Linked DNA regions of Homo sapiens: regions 1 and 3 are each linked to region 2. Evidence: promoter capture Hi-C in 16 types of primary human blood cells and fetal thymus (Javierre and others, 2016). All regions are on one chromosome and are shown on one strand. Each heading gives the region's core, a stretch centred on a gene start or on the middle of the fragment in contact. The rest is flanking DNA. Distances are from core to core; before and after follow the strand shown. Region 1 overlaps CCDC82 (coiled-coil domain containing 82). Region 2 holds the start of LNCRNA-IUR (lncRNA imatinib upregulated). Region 3 has its middle 42 kb from the start of JRKL.

The links. Contacts are between HindIII fragments. The CHiCAGO score rates a contact against its expected background, and 5 or more counts as called.
Region 1: a contact is called between a fragment that was not itself captured here and the fragment with the promoter of LNCRNA-IUR in region 2, in 1 of 17 cell types (erythroblasts). The highest score is 5.2, in erythroblasts.
Region 3: a contact is called between a fragment that was not itself captured here and the fragment with the promoter of LNCRNA-IUR in region 2, in 11 of 17 cell types (M2 macrophages, endothelial precursors, M0 macrophages and 8 more). The highest score is 14.7, in M2 macrophages.

The regions. Positions count from the first base shown.
Region 1 is chr11:96,349,747-96,353,784 of GRCh38, forward strand. It overlaps CCDC82 (coiled-coil domain containing 82), which reads right to left. Exons shown (of 10, transcript NM_024725.4): 10 at 3,027-3,968. The coding sequence ends at 3,900. Among named protein-coding and RNA genes, the nearest start is that of MAML2, 8.6 kb to the left of the region's middle. The HindIII fragment of the contact is 826 bases long and covers 1,258-2,083 here.
Region 2 is chr11:95,148,508-95,152,644 of GRCh38, forward strand. LNCRNA-IUR (lncRNA imatinib upregulated) reads left to right here and starts at 2,032. Exons shown (of 3, transcript NR_110303.1): 1 at 2,032-3,241. RefSeq lists enhancers at 1,818-2,359, 2,360-2,901, 2,502-2,631 and a silencer at 3,152-3,261. The HindIII fragment of the contact is 7,632 bases long and covers 1-4,137 here.
Region 3 is chr11:96,430,198-96,434,203 of GRCh38, forward strand. No RefSeq gene overlaps it. Among named protein-coding and RNA genes, the nearest start is that of JRKL, 42 kb to the left of the region's middle. The HindIII fragment of the contact is 3,885 bases long and covers 1-3,775 here.

The DNA of each region.
Region 1 (4,038 bases), core at 421-2,920, 1.2 Mb after region 2:
TCTGACAAAGGTCTAATAGCCAGAGTCTACAAGGAACTTAAACAAATTTAAAAGAATAAAACAAACCCCATTAAAAAGTGGGCAAAGGACATGAACAGACAGCCCTCAAAAGTAGACATTTATGCAGCCAACAAACATACGAAAAAAGCTCAACATCACTGATCATTAGAGAAATGCAAATCCAGACCACAATGAGATACCATCTCATGCCAGTCAGAAGGGCTATTAGGTAAAAGTAAAAAAACAAACAAAAACACAAAACAAAAACAACAGATGCTGGCAAGGTGGTGGAGAAAAAAGGCATGCTTTTACACTGTTGGTGTAAATTAGTTCAATCATTGTGGAAGACAGTGTGGTGATTCCTCAAAGACCTAGAGGCAGAAATACCATTTGACCCAGCAATCCCATAACTGCGTATATACCCAAAGGAATATAAATCATTCTATTATAAAGATATGTGCACATGTATGTTCACTGCAGCACTATTCACAATAGCAAAAACACAGAATCGACCTAAATGCCCATCAATGATAGAGTGGATAAAGAAAATGTGGTACATAAACACCAGGGAATACTATGCAGTCATAAAAAGAAATGAGATCATGGCCTTTGCAGGGACATGGACGGAGTTGGAAGCCATTTTCCTCAGCAGACTAATGCAGGAATAGAAAACCAAACATCGCACCGTCTCACTTGTAAGTGGGAGCTGAATGATGAGAACATATGGACACATGGTGGGGAACAACACACACTGGAGCCTGTTGGTGGTTGGGTTGGGGGATGGGGAGCATCAGGAAGAATAGCTAATGGATGCTGGGCTTAAAACCTAGGTGATGGGATGATCTGTGCAGCAAACCACCATGGCACACATTTACCTATGTAACAAGCCTACACATCCTACACATGTATCCCGGAAGTTAAAATAAAAGTTGAAGAAAAAAGACTGACTTCCACCTTAATCACTAGTCTGGCTGCCTCAATAGCAAGTATGAAAGGAGTTATGGGGGAGCCAAACTATCTCCAAAGTAGCTCAAAGCTGCTCAAAGGCTGCAGTCTATCCCTCAGTGAACACTCTGGAATCTAAGTAAGTCCTATAATACCTCCTGGGAATGAGTACTATATAGATCTACTCATCTGAATATGAGCAGACAAGTCAGGAAATGTGGCCAATTGCATCCAACTGCCTGTACAATAAACATTTATTTTCCCTTGTTTTTTCCTGTCTTATGGTTTTGTTCCCTCTCTTCATAACCCTAAAGCTTCTGTATAGCCCTGTGATTTCTTTCTAGAATTACTTTCCTTTTACTTGTCCATTTCTGTCTTCCTCATCATCTCTGCTATCAATAGCTACCTAACACTAAAGCACCTAACACTGTAGTAATAAATGACCAAATCTAAAAAATTTACAGTCATGTGAAATGATATGTGAAATAAATGAGCTTAAAAACTATTTTTGTAATTAGCTGGGCATGGTGGTGCACACCTGTAGTCCCAGCTACTTGGGACGCTGAAGCAGGGGAATCGGTTGACCTTGGGAGGTGGAGGTTGCAGTGAGTGAGATCGCCCCACTGCACTACAGCCTGGCAACAGAGCGAGACTCCATCTCAAAAAAACAAAAACAAAAACAAAAAAAACCTGTTTTTGTGTTGTTATTGAATCAATGATATTGATGATGATGATGATAATGATAAAATAATATGTCCTAATACCTGTAAAGGTTAATTCTATTTCTCAACATTTCCATTTTCTTATGAACTACTTGCTTTTTGCCCCCTAATACATGTTAATTCTCACTTCCTAACAGCCTTTTTGCCATTCTTTTAATGTTACCACGACCTTAGAGCCTCTTGTATTCTCCAAATTCCTACAAAGTAGCATGCTTGGTTGCAATGACCTTAGACATCAAACTACCTATAAGCATTTTATGATCAACAGGCAGCTGTTCCAATAGGAAAAGTGCTTCAAGCCAACAAGATGGTTGATCCAGATAAGTCCTTGGAATTATTAGTGCCTTAATTTACAAATTAACTGCATGCTGTTAAAAGTAAGAGATATATTTTAAGATTACTCTTCAGCCATCTCAAGCTTGTCTGTAATGTCCCATATGAGAACTGATGCTTCTAGGTAATTGGAGATACTTTAGAGATCCTTTTTTTTTTTTCATTTCTTCTGGCCTTCCTTTTTATAAATCATTTGTGATCCTTTACCCTTCCTCCTTGACTGTCACTTCTAACTCTGCCTTGCTTTTTTTGTGGACACTGTCCCTTCATCTTCACCTTTCAATTACGACTTTATTTTTATTCCTTGGAATTTAGTTAAGAATTATTTTGCAATATGCCAGGGAAATATGAATAAGTATACAGATATGTAGGGCAGACACAGTGGCTCATGCTTGTAATCACAGGACTTTGAGAAGCCAAGGTGGGTGGATCACCTGAAGTCAGGAGTTCAAGACCAGCGTGGCCAACATGGTGAAACCCCATCTCTACTAAAAAATGCAAAATTAGCCAGGTGTGGTGGCGCATGCCTGTAATCCCAGCCACTCAGGAGGTTGAGGTGGGTGAGTCGCTTGAACCCGGGAGGCGGAGGTTGCAGTGAGTAGAGATCATGCCATTGCACGCCAGCCTGGGTGACAAGAGCAAGACTCCATCTCAAATTAAAAAAAAATACAGATATGTGAAATTTCCATTTCACAATGTTTGAAAAAGGTATGCACTCCTCATTAAACATTAAACATCAGCATCAGTACTGTTACCACAATTGTGAGTTTTTTCCACCCCATTTGTTTACAATAATAATACGGATAATTTCAGGAAATGAATTGTAGAAAATATTAACTCATTTCCATATATGAGCTTAATGTAGCTTTTTATGGATACGTACACTACGGTCCATGCCATGAGTCGCATAATAGATGAATCCAAGTTCAACCAAGACTTCCATTAAGAAAAAATTATCTAAAGGATAGATCCTACTAGAATACCACTTTTAAGAATTAAAAATATAGAACACACAGGGTTCATTTGTTCACTCTGCAACCATTTTACTTTATTACTTTATGGGAAAATTTAGATATGCAAAGCAATGCAGATACCAAAATATGCTTTCCAAGTGTTTTTGGCTGAGTTTGTCTCTTTCAGCAGTTCTGACCCTAAGATACATACTTATATGGAAAAAGCTATGGATAAAAATAAATAAAATACATCTTAATCATCAATATATAGACAAAATTGAATAGAAAAAAGTAAGAACATTATAAAGCATGAAAATTTACATAAAATTATTCCTGAATGTGAGGGTTGAAAGACTCTAGAGGCCTGAAATCTATTTGAAAGAGAAACTTTCAAGAAAAGGAAAAAAGCATTCCTCTACTTAGAATAGATATGCTATGATCTGATTCTGAAGCAATGGGATTGAACTGAATGATATATGAGGTTTCTTCCATGGCCCACTGATTTAGATGATAGCAGTAAAAAATATATTAGTGAAAATCATTTAATACTGTAAAAGAATAAACAGATCTGGACAGGAATTCCGTAAAAATACATGTAGACGTTAGTCTAAATACATTTTTAAGATACAATATATTTTGACTAAACTGACAGGATATCAACAGCTCATTCACTTGACAGTCATCTGTTATAAAGCCATTATTATATAACTTTAAAATATATTTACAGACTTAAAAATTAAGATAATGCTTTTATGTACATCAGATAAAAGTTTAATTAGAGTGTAGAGTGCCACTTCACAGGAATTAAGATAATCATGTTTTAAACAAAATATTTTGCCATGAAGATATAGATAAAATGTACAAACATGTCACATGATACAGAAAAACAAGAATCATGATCTTCACATTTACAGGAATTTAAAAAATCTTCTCTGATGGAAATGTGTTACAACTCAAACTTCTCTTCTTGAAAGTAATCCGCAAAATTGAGATATTCTTCAAGTTGACCATATTTCTGCATATACAATAGAAAAGCTAGTTATTTTACTCAAAGCAATGAAGACAAACTGGGCCTTTGCAAACTA
Region 2 (4,137 bases), core at 782-3,281:
CCATCACTTTTGCCACATTCCAATGCCCAAGTAAGTCCCTGAGGCCAGCCCAGATGCAAAAGAAGGGGAATTAGATTTCATCTGTTGATGGAGGAATGGCAAGGTCATTTCTGAAGAGCAGCTGAGATGGAAAGTATTTTGTAGGCATTTATGGAAAATGCCATCTGCCACAGTAGTTACTATTAATATCTCTTTCTACACAGGAGAAAATTTCACAATGACCTAGCTAAGTTATATGATTAACCTGCTTGTTCAAGATCAGCCAGATCCAGATGTCATCTAATTTAGTAACCATTGTACTTCACTTAGGATAGTGTTCTAAAACTTTAATAAGGAAGGAGTCACCCCTTTCAAAAATGCAGTATTAGTATCAAGAATATGAAAACATAAATTCTAGTAAAATTTATAAAGTAGAAATATAAATTCTAGTAACACTTGGGATGCCATGTTCAATAAATATTACTGAAGGAGGAGCTAACATCTGCTGCACTGCTTCAGTGGTCCAGGCACTCATACACTATATATAAACTCACTTAATCCTCACAGTTATCTTTTCCCCCCAGATGAAAGTGAACTTTAGAGGGATTAAATGCCTTGCCCCAAACCAAGTAACCACTTAGCGACAGAGCCAGGGTTTGAACACAGTCATGTCTCAGTCCACATTCCATGTGCTTTCCACTGAGCTCCATGTTACAGGTTGGGCTCCCCAGGAATCAGTCTCTGAGATGACAGTAGCATGCAGGAAGTTAGCAAAAAAGTGCTCAAGGGGAACACACGTGGGGAAGGGGAAAACTCAGGATTAGGCAAAGGAGAAGGTGGGCAGGTAGAACTAGAGCCAAGCAAATGCCAGCCAGCCTTTTTGGAGGGTTTGGGTGGATAACGGACAATGTCAAAAACAGCATTAATTTTCAATCCTGGGTGGTGGAAAGACTATATATATGTATGTATATATGTATGTATGTATGTATGTGTATGTGTGTATGTATGTGTGTATGTATGTGTGTGTATGTATGTATGTATGTATGTATATGTATGTGTGTATGTGTGTGTGTGTATGTATGTATGTATGTGTGTATGTATGTATGTGTAATTTCTCTATGTCAGACACTGCTGGGTTTGTGCTCCCCTCTATAATCTACTGATTGTGGGACTTCACACGAGGTACAAAACATAAGTGACCTAATAAGCCCTCTAGACAGGGCTTCAGGGAGGAGCCAAGGCTGGCACATAGTCAGAGGGCAGGAAAAGTTCCACTCCCTCCGTGTGATTAGGAGGGCTGCTTTGTTTTCTTCCCAGGCAGAGACCTCAAAGAAAAGTGTGACTTGTGGCAATCATTGGAATGCTCTAACGGGAGGGAGCCCTAAGCTAAGGGGAGGGGCTGTATCAGCCCCGGGAGGGCGAGGGACAAAGGGGCATTGTTTCCCTGGAGGGCAGGCTGGGGCAAGGCTGACTCCACTGCCGGCCTGGGCGTGGGCAGGTTTGCTCCCGGGAGGAGAAGGCCTCCATCCTGGCCCACAATAGCCAACCCAAAACAGTTCTGGCAAAATTAAAAGACGCAGGAAAATGCCAGCGACCGTTTATTTTCTCCTAGGGTAGATGGGGGAGAAAGCAGCTCCTTTTTCTGGGCTGAATGGAGTCTCAGGGAGGGGGCTAGGTGACAGCATCGCCCTTTCCTCTCCGGCTATTGCGCACCTTCTGGAGCCTCGCTCAGCCTGCTCCCTCCGGCGTAATACGCCAATGCTGCTACCCACAACGCACAGACCAGAAACCAGGATAGACAGAAGCCTAGAATGGCCTGGCATCGAGCAGGCCCAGCGCAAACGCAAGGTCTCTTCCTCTCCTTTCGGTGAACCCCACGCCCAGTCCCGAGAGAGAGAGCGGATGCTCATTTCCGAAAGCTGGCAATCCTGCAGTGGCCACTGGAAAAATACATATACGTGTGTGTGTGTGTGTGTGTGTGTGTGTGTGTGTGTGTGCGCGCGCGCGCACACAGTGCATATCGTGCCCATCTACAAGGAAACCTGGAGGCTCCACAAACAACTTTGAGTCCCGGGAGGGCGGAGGTGGAGAGAGATTCTCCGCTTGGATAAGGGCGGCTGGATAGCCGAGTACTCTCTTTTGGGGCTGTTGGCCGTCTCCGGAGTCTCGGGAGCGCCTTGATGTCCCTTCCCAGGGCTCGGGTTCCTTTGAGAGAATCAAGAGGAAGGTGTTTTTCACTAGGACTCGCGGTGGGCCCCACCTGCCTACCGTGGCCGGCCGGGAGCTATTACAGCAGGGTCTGCCCGTCCGACGACGGCGGCTCCAATCTGGGGTCCCGCCGGCGCCGACCCCTCAGCTCTCTCCCGATACCTGCTGGCCTCTCTCATCTTTGGTGGCACTCGCCGCCACGGGGACGGTGAGATCAAAGAGGTAGACCTAGGCCAGGAGGGACTGCCAGGGCTCCTTCCCGCGGGCCAGCCTCTCGTCCTTCCTCCCGGGACGGGGCTCTTTCCCTTTCTCCGGATGCGGGCCTTTGAGAGTCAGCGACGCCTTAGACTCCTCCCAGAAAAATGCACCCTCATCTACCCAATTCTGCCCTACCCTTTGGAGCTCCTGGACCCTCTAACCGCTCGGTGGGGTCAGAGCCCACCCCCGGAAGGGCCGCTGGTCGGGGACTGGTTCGCCCTCTCCTGGCCTCCTCGGACCAGTGCGCGGGGAGGATCCCGCTAACGCCGGGCGCCTGCAGACCTTGAGCGGCCTCGCCCTGGTGACCTCCCCGGGAAAGGCTGGGCGGTGCTTCCACAATGAGGGCCACCTGTTAATTTGCACGAGAAAGTGCTGCCGAGGGCCCACACGTGCGAATCCACCTGTGGAGTGCGTCCCCTCTCTGGGGCCAAGGCCTAGGGGAGGCCGAAGCGGAGAAGTTGCCTGAAGACTGGGAAGTAAGAGTAGGGGCGTCGGAGGAATCGAAGTTGCAGTGACATCAGGCTCGGACAGCCGGCGGACTCCTCGCAAGGTGATCGGATACTTCCGAGAGCCCCACAGTCCTCCTGGGCCTTTGCCCTCGCGTCTGGGATGCGCTCGGGCGCCCCCAGTCTGCGATGCGTTCGTACCTCCAGTAGGGTGACGTTTTCGCCGGGCCCCTCTGCGAACAGTCTCCGCCCTCCTCCACTGTGAGATATTTCACAGTTTCACCCGCAGAGGGCAACCTTATTCCAAGTTCCCGAGCGCCCTAGGCCTCTTTCTCCTCCCTGCCTAACTGGTGAGGTGGGACTTCAATGCCTTTTAGGTTTACAGTCTTTTCCTCCCCACGGCTTCTCTTTCCTCCCCGTCTCAGGCACTGGGCATTTCCAGTCGATCCAGCAGGTCTGGCTTCTCTCACATATGCAGTAAGGGTTAGGGGAGAAGGTCCCAGCTCCTCTTGTCTCTAGCAGAGTGTAAACTGGCTCTGCTGAGGAGGTGGCTGTGCTTTTATTCCTTCTCCTGAGAACTGTTTATATATTAAGGAGCTTCACAGCCTCCAACATAAGGAAAGCAGGTAGGAACTGATCATATAACGCTTTGTAAATGTTTTAGACTTTGGCTTTAATGGGAAAGAAATGGGGAGCCATTCGTGGGTTTTTGAGCAGCAGGTGGACATTGCTTTTCATAATGACCACGCCAGCTGCTGTTTGGAGAATAGACTGTAGGGGTCACTGCGCAAATTGGAGGCCGCGATCCAGGTGAGAACCAGGTGAAACAGAGCTCGGGCCATGGAGTGGCGCTGGAGGTAAGGAGAAACACTCAGACTCTGGGTATGTTTTTTGAAAGTAGGATAAAAGGCCGGGCGCGGTGGCTCACGCCTGTAATCCCAGCACTTTGGGAGGCCAAGGTGAGCGGATCAAGAGGTCAGGAGATCGAGACCATCCTGGCTAACACGGTGAAACCCCGTCTCTACTAAAAAAAAAAAAAAAAAAAAATTAGCAGGGAGTGGTGGCAGGTGCCCGTAGTCCCAGCTACTCGGGAGGCTGTGGCAGGAGAATGGTGTGAACCTGGGAGGCAGAGCTTGCAGTGAGCCGAGATGGCGCCACGGCACTCCAGCCTGGGCGACAGAGCGAGACTCTGTCTCAGTCAATCAATCAATCAATAAAAATACAAAACATTAGCTGGGTGTGATGG
Region 3 (4,006 bases), core at 583-3,082, 1.3 Mb after region 2:
AAAAAAACCATTCAAAAGATGAGTGAATCCAGGAGCTGGATTTTTGAAAAAATTAATAAAATAGACCGCTAGCTAGACTAATAAAGAGAAAAAGAGAAGATTCAAATAAACACAATTAGACACAACAAAGGGATATTACCACTGACCCCAAAGAAATACAAATAACCATCAGAGAATATTATGAACTCCTCTATGCACATAAACTAGAAAGTCTAGAAGAAATGGTTAAATTCCTGAACACATACACCTCCCAAGACTGACCAGGAAGACATTGAATCCCTGAACAGACATATAATGGGATCCAAAACTGAATCAGCCTAAAATAGCCTTCCAACCAAAAAAAAAAAAAAAAAAAAAAGAAGCCCAGGACCAAACAGATTCACAGCCTGAATTCTACTAGATATACAAAAAAAGACCTGGTATTGTTCCTGCTGAAACTGTTCCAAAAAATCGAGGAGGAGAGACTCCTCCCTAACTCATTCTATGAGGCCCATATCATCCTGATACCAAAACCTGGCAGAGACACAACAGAAAAAGAAAACTTCAGGGCAATATTCTTTATGAATATTGATACAAAAATCCTCAACAAAATACTGGCAAACCGAATTCAGCAGCACATCAAAAAACTTATCCACCACTATCAAATATGCTTCATCCCCAGGATGCAAGGTTGGTTCAACATATGCAAATCAATAAATATGATTCGTCATGTAAGTGGATCTAAAGAAAAAAGCCACATGATTATATCTCAATAGATGCAGAAAATGTTTTTGGTAAAATTCAACATTTCTTCATGTTAAAAACTCTCAATAAACTAGGTATTAAAGGAATGTGACTCAAAATAATAAGAGCCACGTATGACAAACTCACAACTAATATCATACTGAATGGGCAAAAGCTGGAAATATTCCCCTCGAAAACCAGCACAAGAGAAGGATGCTCTCTCTCACCACTCCTGCCCAACACAGCATTGGAAGTCCTTGCCAGAGTAATTAAGCAAGAGAAAGAAATAAAGGGCATCCAAATAGGAAGAGAGGAAGTCAAACTATCTCTGTTTGCAGACAACATAATCATATCTAGAAAACCCCATAGTCTTGACTCAAAGGCTCCTTCAGCTGATAAAGAACTTCAGCCAAGTATCAGGATACAAAATCAGTGTACAAAAATCTCTAGCATTCCTATACACCAACAACAGTCAAGCTGAGAGCCAAATCAAGAATGCAATCCCATTCACAATTGCCACAAAAAGAATAAAATACCTATGCATACAGCTATTCAGGGAGGTGAAAGATCTCTACAATGAGAACTACAAAACACTGCTCAAAGAAATCAGAGATGCCACAAACAAATGGAAAAGCATTCCATGCTCATGGATAGGAAGAATCAATATCTTCAAAATGACAATACTCTCCAAAGCAATTTATAGATTCAATGCTATTCCTATTAAACTACCAATGACATTCTTCACAGACCTAGAAAAATGTGTTTTAAAATTCATGTGGAAATAAAAAAGAGCCTGAATAGCTAAGGTAATCCTAAACAAAAAGAACAAAGCTAGAGGCATCATGCTACCTACTTCTAACTACACTACAAGGCTATGGTAACCAAAACAGCATGGTGCTGTTACAAAAACAGACACACAGATTAAAGGAACAGAATAGAAAACCCAGAAATAAGGCAGCACACCTACAACTATCTGATCTTTGACAAATCTGACAAAGATAAGCAATGGGGACAGGACTCCCTATTCAATAAATGGTGCTGGGATAACTTGCTAGCCATATGCAGAGATTGAAACTGGACCCCTTCCTTATATCGTACACAAAATCAACCCAAGATGGATTAAAGACTTAAATGTAAAACCCAAAATTATAAAAACCCTGGAAGACGACCTAGGCAATACAATTCTGGACATAGGAACAGGCAAAGATTTCATGAAGAAGATGCCAAAGCAATTGCGACCAAAACAAAAATTGACAAATGTGATATAATTAAGCTATAGAGCTTCTGCACAGCAAAAACAAAAAACAAACAAACTCAAAACTAAAAACAACTGTCAACAGAGTAAACAGTCAAACTACAGAATGGGAGAAAATTTTTGCAAACTATGCATCTGATGAATGTCTAATGTCCAGCATCTACAAGGAACTTAAATTTACAAGAGAAAAAACAAACAACCTCATTAAAAAATGGGCAAAGGACATGAACAGACACTTCTCAAAAGAAGACATTCATGCCACCAACAAACATGAAAAAAAGCTATCACTGGTCATTAGAGAGATGCAAATCAAAACCACAATGAGATACCATCTCACACCAGTCAAATGGCAATTATTAAAAAGTCAAAAAATAACAGATGCTGGTGAGGTTGTAGAGAAAAAGGAATGCCTATACACTGTTGGCGGGAGTGTAAATTAGTTCAGCCATTGTGGAAGACATTGAGACGATTCCTCAAAGACCCAAAAACAGAAATATCATTTGACCCAGCAATTCCATGACTAGGTACATACCCAAAGAAATATAAATCATTGTATCATAAAGACACTTACATGCATATATTCATTGCAGCAATACTCACAATAGCAAAGACATGGAATCAACCTAAATGCCCATCAGTGATAGAATGGATAAAGAAAATGTGGTACATATACACCATGGAATACTATGCAGCTATAAAAAAGAATAAGATCACATCCTTTTCAGGAACATGAATAGAGCTGGAGGCCATTATCCTTAGCAAACTGATGCAGGAACAGAAAAACAAATACTGCAGATTCTCACTTATAAGTGGTAGCAAAATGATGAGAACACATGGACACAGAGGGGAACAACAGACATTGGGGCTTACTGCAAGGTGGAGGGTGGGAGGAGGCAGAGAATCAGGAAAAATAACCAGTGGGTTCTAGGCTTAACACCTGGGTGATGAAATGATCAATACAGCATACCCCCATGACACAGTTTACCTATATAATAAACCTTCACAGTTACCCCTGAACTTAAACATTAAAAACGAATACAATTAAAAATAAAACAAAATTTACATAACTTTCAATCTAGTATTTTTGTGTTTAGGAATTTATCCTAAGGAAAGAATCATGGTTATGTGCCAAGATTGTGTAACAAAGACATTGATTGTAATAACAAAACCAGCAAACAACCTAATTGCATTTAAAAAAAAATTTCAACTTCTACTTTAAGATTCAAGGGGTACACGTGCAGGTTTGCTACATGGATATGTTGTATAATGCTGAAGTTTGGGGTACAATTGATCTTGTCACCCAGTAGTGATCACAGTACTGCTAATAATATGTCACTGGTTATATAAATTAATTTTGACATACCATGTAATCATTAAGCGATATTGCAGAAGAATGTTTACTAGCATAGAAAAAAAATCAATTTTTGACATGAGAAAAGAGGTCACAAAGTGTTTGTAATTCTTGTTCTACTTCTCTGTTTAATAAATACATACATCCCCTAAAATGGTAGGAAGAAGGATTTACAAACGATCTGTAGTAATATTTGGGTGGTGGGCCTAATAGTAATGCTTTTTTTTCATAGATATATTTTGTAGTTTTCTATAGTTTGCATTTATAAATTGTATAATAAAACCCCACAAAATTATATATTTGTTAATTTTTCTTGTAAGAAATTCTTATAAAATTGAAAATTCAGGGTTAAGTGTCCTGGTATATTTGTAACAAGTGTTCTGAGCTAAACCCAGTTGAAGACTGAGAATCCTTGTCAGAATCAATTACCAGTTACTGAGAGAAAAAGCTTTGGTTTCTGGGGCAAGTTGTGGACAGGCAGGCAGAAATCAACCTCAGCTCTTATCAGTGCTGAGCTCTCCCTCCTAGGCTCTGTGCTTGGGAAAAGCTTCCTTTAGCAGAGGCTGCTTTGGGAAAGAAGAATATATCATACCTGGAGCTTCAGCAGAAGTGGAAAATGGGTTCTGTGATCTTTAAAATATTGTAGGGAATAATAAAGAACTGTCATGTCAAAGCTG